Regions from separate parts of the Homo sapiens genome. Here region 2 is linked to region 1. Evidence: promoter capture Hi-C in human tissues and cell types (Jung and others, 2019). All regions are on one chromosome and are shown on one strand. Each heading gives the region's core, a stretch centred on a gene start or on the middle of the fragment in contact. The rest is flanking DNA. Distances are from core to core; before and after follow the strand shown. Region 1 holds the start of ERVFRD-1 (endogenous retrovirus group FRD member 1, envelope). Region 2 overlaps LOC105374928 (a long non-coding RNA gene).

The links. Contacts are between HindIII fragments. The study calls those that stand out against the background at their distance.
Region 2: a contact is called between a fragment that was not itself captured here and the fragment with the promoter of ERVFRD-1 in region 1, in 1 of the 25 tissues and cell types used here (lymphoblastoid cells).

What each region holds. Positions count from the first base shown.
Region 1 is chr6:11,110,323-11,113,022 of GRCh38, reverse strand. ERVFRD-1 (endogenous retrovirus group FRD member 1, envelope) reads left to right here and starts at 1,298. Exons shown (of 2, transcript NM_207582.3): 1 at 1,298-1,346. The region is part of intron 1 of SMIM13 (small integral membrane protein 13); the gene reads right to left. The HindIII fragment of the contact is 12,472 bases long and covers 1-2,700 here.
Region 2 is chr6:11,472,491-11,475,190 of GRCh38, reverse strand. The region is part of intron 1 of LOC105374928 (a long non-coding RNA gene); the gene reads right to left. Among named protein-coding and RNA genes, the nearest start is that of TMEM170B, 64 kb to the left of the region's middle. The HindIII fragment of the contact is 6,820 bases long and covers 1-2,700 here.

The DNA.
Region 1 (2,700 bases), core at 49-2,548:
CCCGTCTCTACTAAAAATACAAAAAAATATATAATAAAATAAAATAAATTAGCCAGGCATGGTGGCAGGTGCCTATAATCCCAGCTACTTGGGAGGCTGAGGCAGGAGAATTGCTTGAACCCAGGAGGCAAAGGTTGCAGTGAGCCAAGATCATACCACTGCACTCCAGCTTGGGCGACAGAGCAAGACCCCATCTCAAAAAAATAAATAAATAAAACAATAATAATACTAACAGCCAAAAGCTGGAAACCACTCTCATGTCCATCAATGAGTAAATGGATAAACAAATTGTGGTATATCTATACAATGGAATACTCTTTCAGCAATACAAAAGAATGTATTACTGATATACACAACACAAATAGATTTCAAAAGCATTATGCTAGCAGAAAGAAGTCAAACACAAAAAGCATGTTGTGTGATTTGATTTACATTAGAAAGGTAAATTTATGTTTATGGAAAGCAGTTTGGGCCAGGTGTGGTGGTTCATGCCTGTAATCCCAGCACTTTGGGAGGCCAAGGACAGCAGATCACTTGAGGTCAGGAGTTCAAGATCAGCCTGGCCACCATGGTGAAATCTTGTCTCTACTAAAAATACAAAAATTAGCTGGGCATGGTGGTGCACACCTGTTAATTCCAGCTATTCAGGAGTCTGAGGCACAAGAATCACTTGAACCCGGGAGGTGGAGGTTGCAGTGAGCCAAGATTGCATCACTGCACTCCAGCCTGGGAGACAGAGCGAGGCTGTCTCCAAAAAAAAAAAAGCAAGCAGTTCTATCAGGAGGCCATTAGGTTAAGCTGGTTCTGTTAGAGTAGGTAGTCAGGCAGACATGAGCAGGGCAGGAGAGGGCCCCCAGCTCAGGAATGTCAGGCGACCATCAGGTGATGATCAGGCGGTTGTTACACTGTTTCTCTAAAATAATAATAATGGGTTGCAGCCAGTACCAGGGAAAGACAGTCTCCCAAAAGACAGGAAACACCGGAAGCTGGTGATCAGCAACTTCCTGATAAGATCTCCGAAGCTGGGCAAGTGGGCTCAAGCATGCGCACTAAGAAGCAAAATGACAGTTTAACCAGTATGTGACCTTCCTCTAGGAACACCTGACTGATAAGGGAAAAATGTCTCAAGAAAGCATGCGCACAACTTCAGTAAACAAATGCACATGTGGCTCCTCCCAAGTGCTGACAGGCCACTGCACAGCAGACAGCCCACCCCAAGGAAAAAAATCCAAGGAGGAGAAATGGAAACCCCGGAACCATGCCGATGTATAAAACCCCAAGTCAAGGGCTGAACAGGGCACTTGGATCTCTCAAATGGTGCAGTGACTCGGATACCTTCCCTAGTGGTAAGACACCTCTACGCCTTGCCTTCTTCGGCTGGAGGCGTTCAACCCTCGTACGTGGTTTCGTTCTCCTCTTTCACTCTCCTGCTTACTAACCTACCCCTGGAACGATTCCTCTCAACCACAGTGGCTCTGCTCCCCCTGGCTGCTCTCTCTGCTCACCCCGAAGGATGGCTTGCAGGGGTGGGAAGGACCTTGGAGTCTGCACTAAGTAGACCTGAGACACTAATGGCCCCCCCAGACAGGAGGCTGATGAGAGCGGTAGGGCTAAAACCTACAACCATGTAGTATCTGGGGTTTCCTCTGCTTTTTCAACTAAAATCAGCTCTTTCCCAAAAACCCACCACCACCTATTTTCCTTTCTCTGTATGTATTCCAAAATGACCTCGCACACCCATTGGACCAACTGCCTTGGGGGTAAGTCTGTCTTTTCTCTGTTCTTACTTTGCATGCCCTGCAACTTTCTTCTCTGCCTTAAACACACATTCCCTATTTGTTATTCATGCACCCGCAGCTCTTGCTGTGTTAGCCTGGCAACCAAGAGATGGACTCCCTTACGGATGTCCCTTGATATTTATACTTGTTACCCTACCAGCTCGGATGACCTCCAACCCTTTCCCTGTCTGTTGGCTCACTGCCGGGATAGACACTAATCAGAACCTTAGCTCTGTCAGCTCCTTATGACTTACCATATGCTTTTCATCCCTGTTATGCTCCAGGGCCATGTTTCTCCCTGGCTTTTGAATGGTTTGCTTGCTTGCATAGGACCTCACTCTGTAGCCCTTAAGGACCCCACCCACTCGCTTTTTTTCTGAGTTAGCACCCCTTTGTGGGGAAGGAAAATTCTCTGCCGTTTGCAGGGTCTTATCCCAAACACCAAGTCCTCCAGAGGTTCCTCCTTTATATCAAGAGGGCAAATAAACGTTGCCCTCTCAAATCCAAGGGCTGCTGTTTCTGCAAACATATGAAGGCTTTCCATGAGTATTCCTCTTGCTTCCTCCCGCTTTCTCCTGTAGCAGAGGGATTGTTCTACCTCGTTAAGCATTTGTTCTGCATGTTACCCTGGGAGGATGAAGAATCCCAAATACAAATTTTCCTCCATTCCTCTAATCACCTCCAGGCCCTTCTCAATATGTATCAGGACCTTCAAAGTTATATTTGAAGGGAGAGAAGTCCAGCCCCCTTGCAGCAATTGGCAGAAAAACAGGCTTCTCGTCTTCTTAAAGAACATGGGAAATGAGAATCTGAGAAGAGATAATCATTCTGTTGCTAGAATGCTCTGAACAAGGGTCACTATAAGGTCATGGAGACAAGGATATAGGACAGCCCAAGGAGGCAGATGCAAGAGACCAAAGTA
Region 2 (2,700 bases), core at 189-2,688, 360 kb before region 1:
TAGTCAGCTTAAGATAGCACATTTAGTAACAAAGTAATTTTAGAAATCAATTACAGAGGAGAAATAGAAGACATTTTCTGTAATATGCCCTCTTGTTTCAGTATGAAGTGTTGACATTGTTTTATTTTTTAAAGTGAAAGCAAAGGATCTAAAATAAGTATGTTGTGAAAATCCAAAACAAAATATGTTGATAAATTTTAAGGTAAATTTTAAGATACCATGTTTCACACTCTAGAAAATAGAAAAAAATAAAGTACCTCTAAAACGTCTTGGGGGAAAAAAGTTAAATATAAAACTTTGCTGATCAAGATAAAAGATCCAATGTTAAGTACTCTTTTATTGGAAGAAAAAGAGAAAAGAAAGGGCTAAAGAAAGACAGGGTTTGATTAAGAGGTGCCACATCTGAGCTAGTTTAAGTGGTTGAACTCAATCTCTTGAGCTGTGCAATCAGGAAAATCATAGTCAGTGTTTGTTAACCATTTTTCTCTGGGTTTCCATATTTTGCAGGACTCTTCAGCCATGAAAAGCGTGAAAGCACGGTCAGGATTACAGGGACAGCCGGAGCTCAGTGAGGGGCTAAGATCAGAGTGGACTGGCGACGTTGGGACTATTTTCTGGGAGGGGCTGGTCTGCAGGTAAATCCTATTGGATGCACACGGATTTTGCTAGAGAGAAAGAAGTGGGTGGTGAGGAAAGAGTGGGAAGATAGAGACATGTACAAAACAAAAAGCAGTTAGAAAAACTAAGTTAGACTTTCCTACCTCCAGGAAAAAGGGTTTAAAAGGGCACTCCGATGGAAACAGGCAACATTTAGTATAGTCATAGAAGTGGAACGGGATGAAGCTATGGTGGGTTTTGAGCTGCAGCTGGTATGGACAGGCAGTAAGAAGCTACTGGAAACCTCAAGCAAGGGTGGTATCAAGGGGCTGGTGTTTCAGGAAGGGAAACGTTTGTCAGTGTCAGGCTAGTTGCAAGGACATAAGCTTGGAGTCAGTCCTTGATACCACATCTGCAACTAGGGTGTAAAGTGTAGTAAACTGGAGATCTGCATTCTGATGGTAATAATTTTAATAGAGATAAAGGAGTGATTCCAAGAGGCAGTATATGGTATTTTACTTAATTCTTATAATAGTCCCCTCCAAATAGGTATTATTATTCCAATTTAGAGGTAACTGAGTCTCACTGATTTATTAAATAAGTTACTCAAGGTCAAACAGTGGAAGCGAGGTTCAGAACCGGCAGATTCAGTGAGTGGTGGATGAGTATGAATCGAAGTATTTTTATTAGCATGTTTTATAAAACTGATTTTTGTTTTTTATTTTCCTTATTTCTCCTAGGTCTGGGAGCCCAAAATTGGTTTCTGTACATATGTATATCAAAGACAAGTGCGGGGTAGGTAATGCCAAAAGTGAAAAAGGATGGCCAGGTTTTTTTTAGTTTTCATTTTGAAACTAAGTATTTGGTTTTACATAAATCAAAGACGAGTTCCTTAAAATAAACAACAGTCTAATAAAGACTGATAATGGGCGATTACCAGCTGATTAAGGCAAGCGCCCTTCACTAAGTTTGCTCCAAGTGTGTCCCTCTGGGTGGTGGTGACCCTGCGCTGAGAGTAATCGCAACCAGAGGTCTGAAGAGCACCTGCTCTGAGCGATATTGCAGTGCTTTGCAGAACCCGGGCAGCCCACCTGGGTAATTCAGAAGCAGCGCAGAATCCACTTGCAACACCAGGGTGAGAGGGCAAAGCTGAGCTGAGAGTTGAAAATACAGCTCAAGTTTTAGAAATCCAGATTTTAAAAACTGGGAAGCCCTCTTTCTAAAGAAAAACAGAAGCTCGCAGTTTTGTTTCATTATCCACCGGTGCCTTGGAGCCATGAACTTTCCCCCACTTCGGAAACGTCTCTGGAAAATTCATTTCATGCTTGTCTACTCCAGTAAAATCCTTGACTGAACTGTTACAAAACAGGAGACTTGGCCCCAGGAATGTGAGAAATCACCCGATACGGTGGAGCCAGTTGGCATCCTCAAGAGCCCTGGGCTTCTGACCTTGGGTTTACCTGTCATCTTGGACCGTGACCTTCTCCCAGCAGAGGGGACTTTCTGATTGTCCCTGTGCCACGGGACAGGGAAGTGGACAGAGCACATGTATCACATTCTTTCACACCCTAGAAAATAGCCCCTAGCCAAGGGAGGGCTCCCAGATCCCAAAATGCTGAGATTATAGGCATGAGCCACTGTATGTGGTGATTATTTTAGATATATATCCAGAAATGGTATTGCTAGAGCATCTGGTAATTCAATGTTTAATTTTTTGAGGAACCACACGCTATTTTCCACACTGGCTGCATGCACCATTTTACATTCCCACCAAGAGTGCATGAGGGTTCTATCTTCTCTACATCCTCGCCAACACTTATTTTCTAATGTTTTTAATAGTAGCCATCCAAATTAAGATGGCCTAATAGTAGCCGTCCTAATTTTTAAATAGCAGCATTAGTACATTTCTAAATCGCATCTCAGGTGCTTAGAACTGGAAAAGTTTGAATCTTGATTCATGGCACATGCATCACCACTGCATGGGTGCATCTTTCATGTAGTCCAATTTTAATAATATAACAAATACCCGTGAACTTGCCACCTGCTTTAAGAGCCAGGACATCATAATTAGTTCATTATCCATGTGATCCTCAACTAATGCAT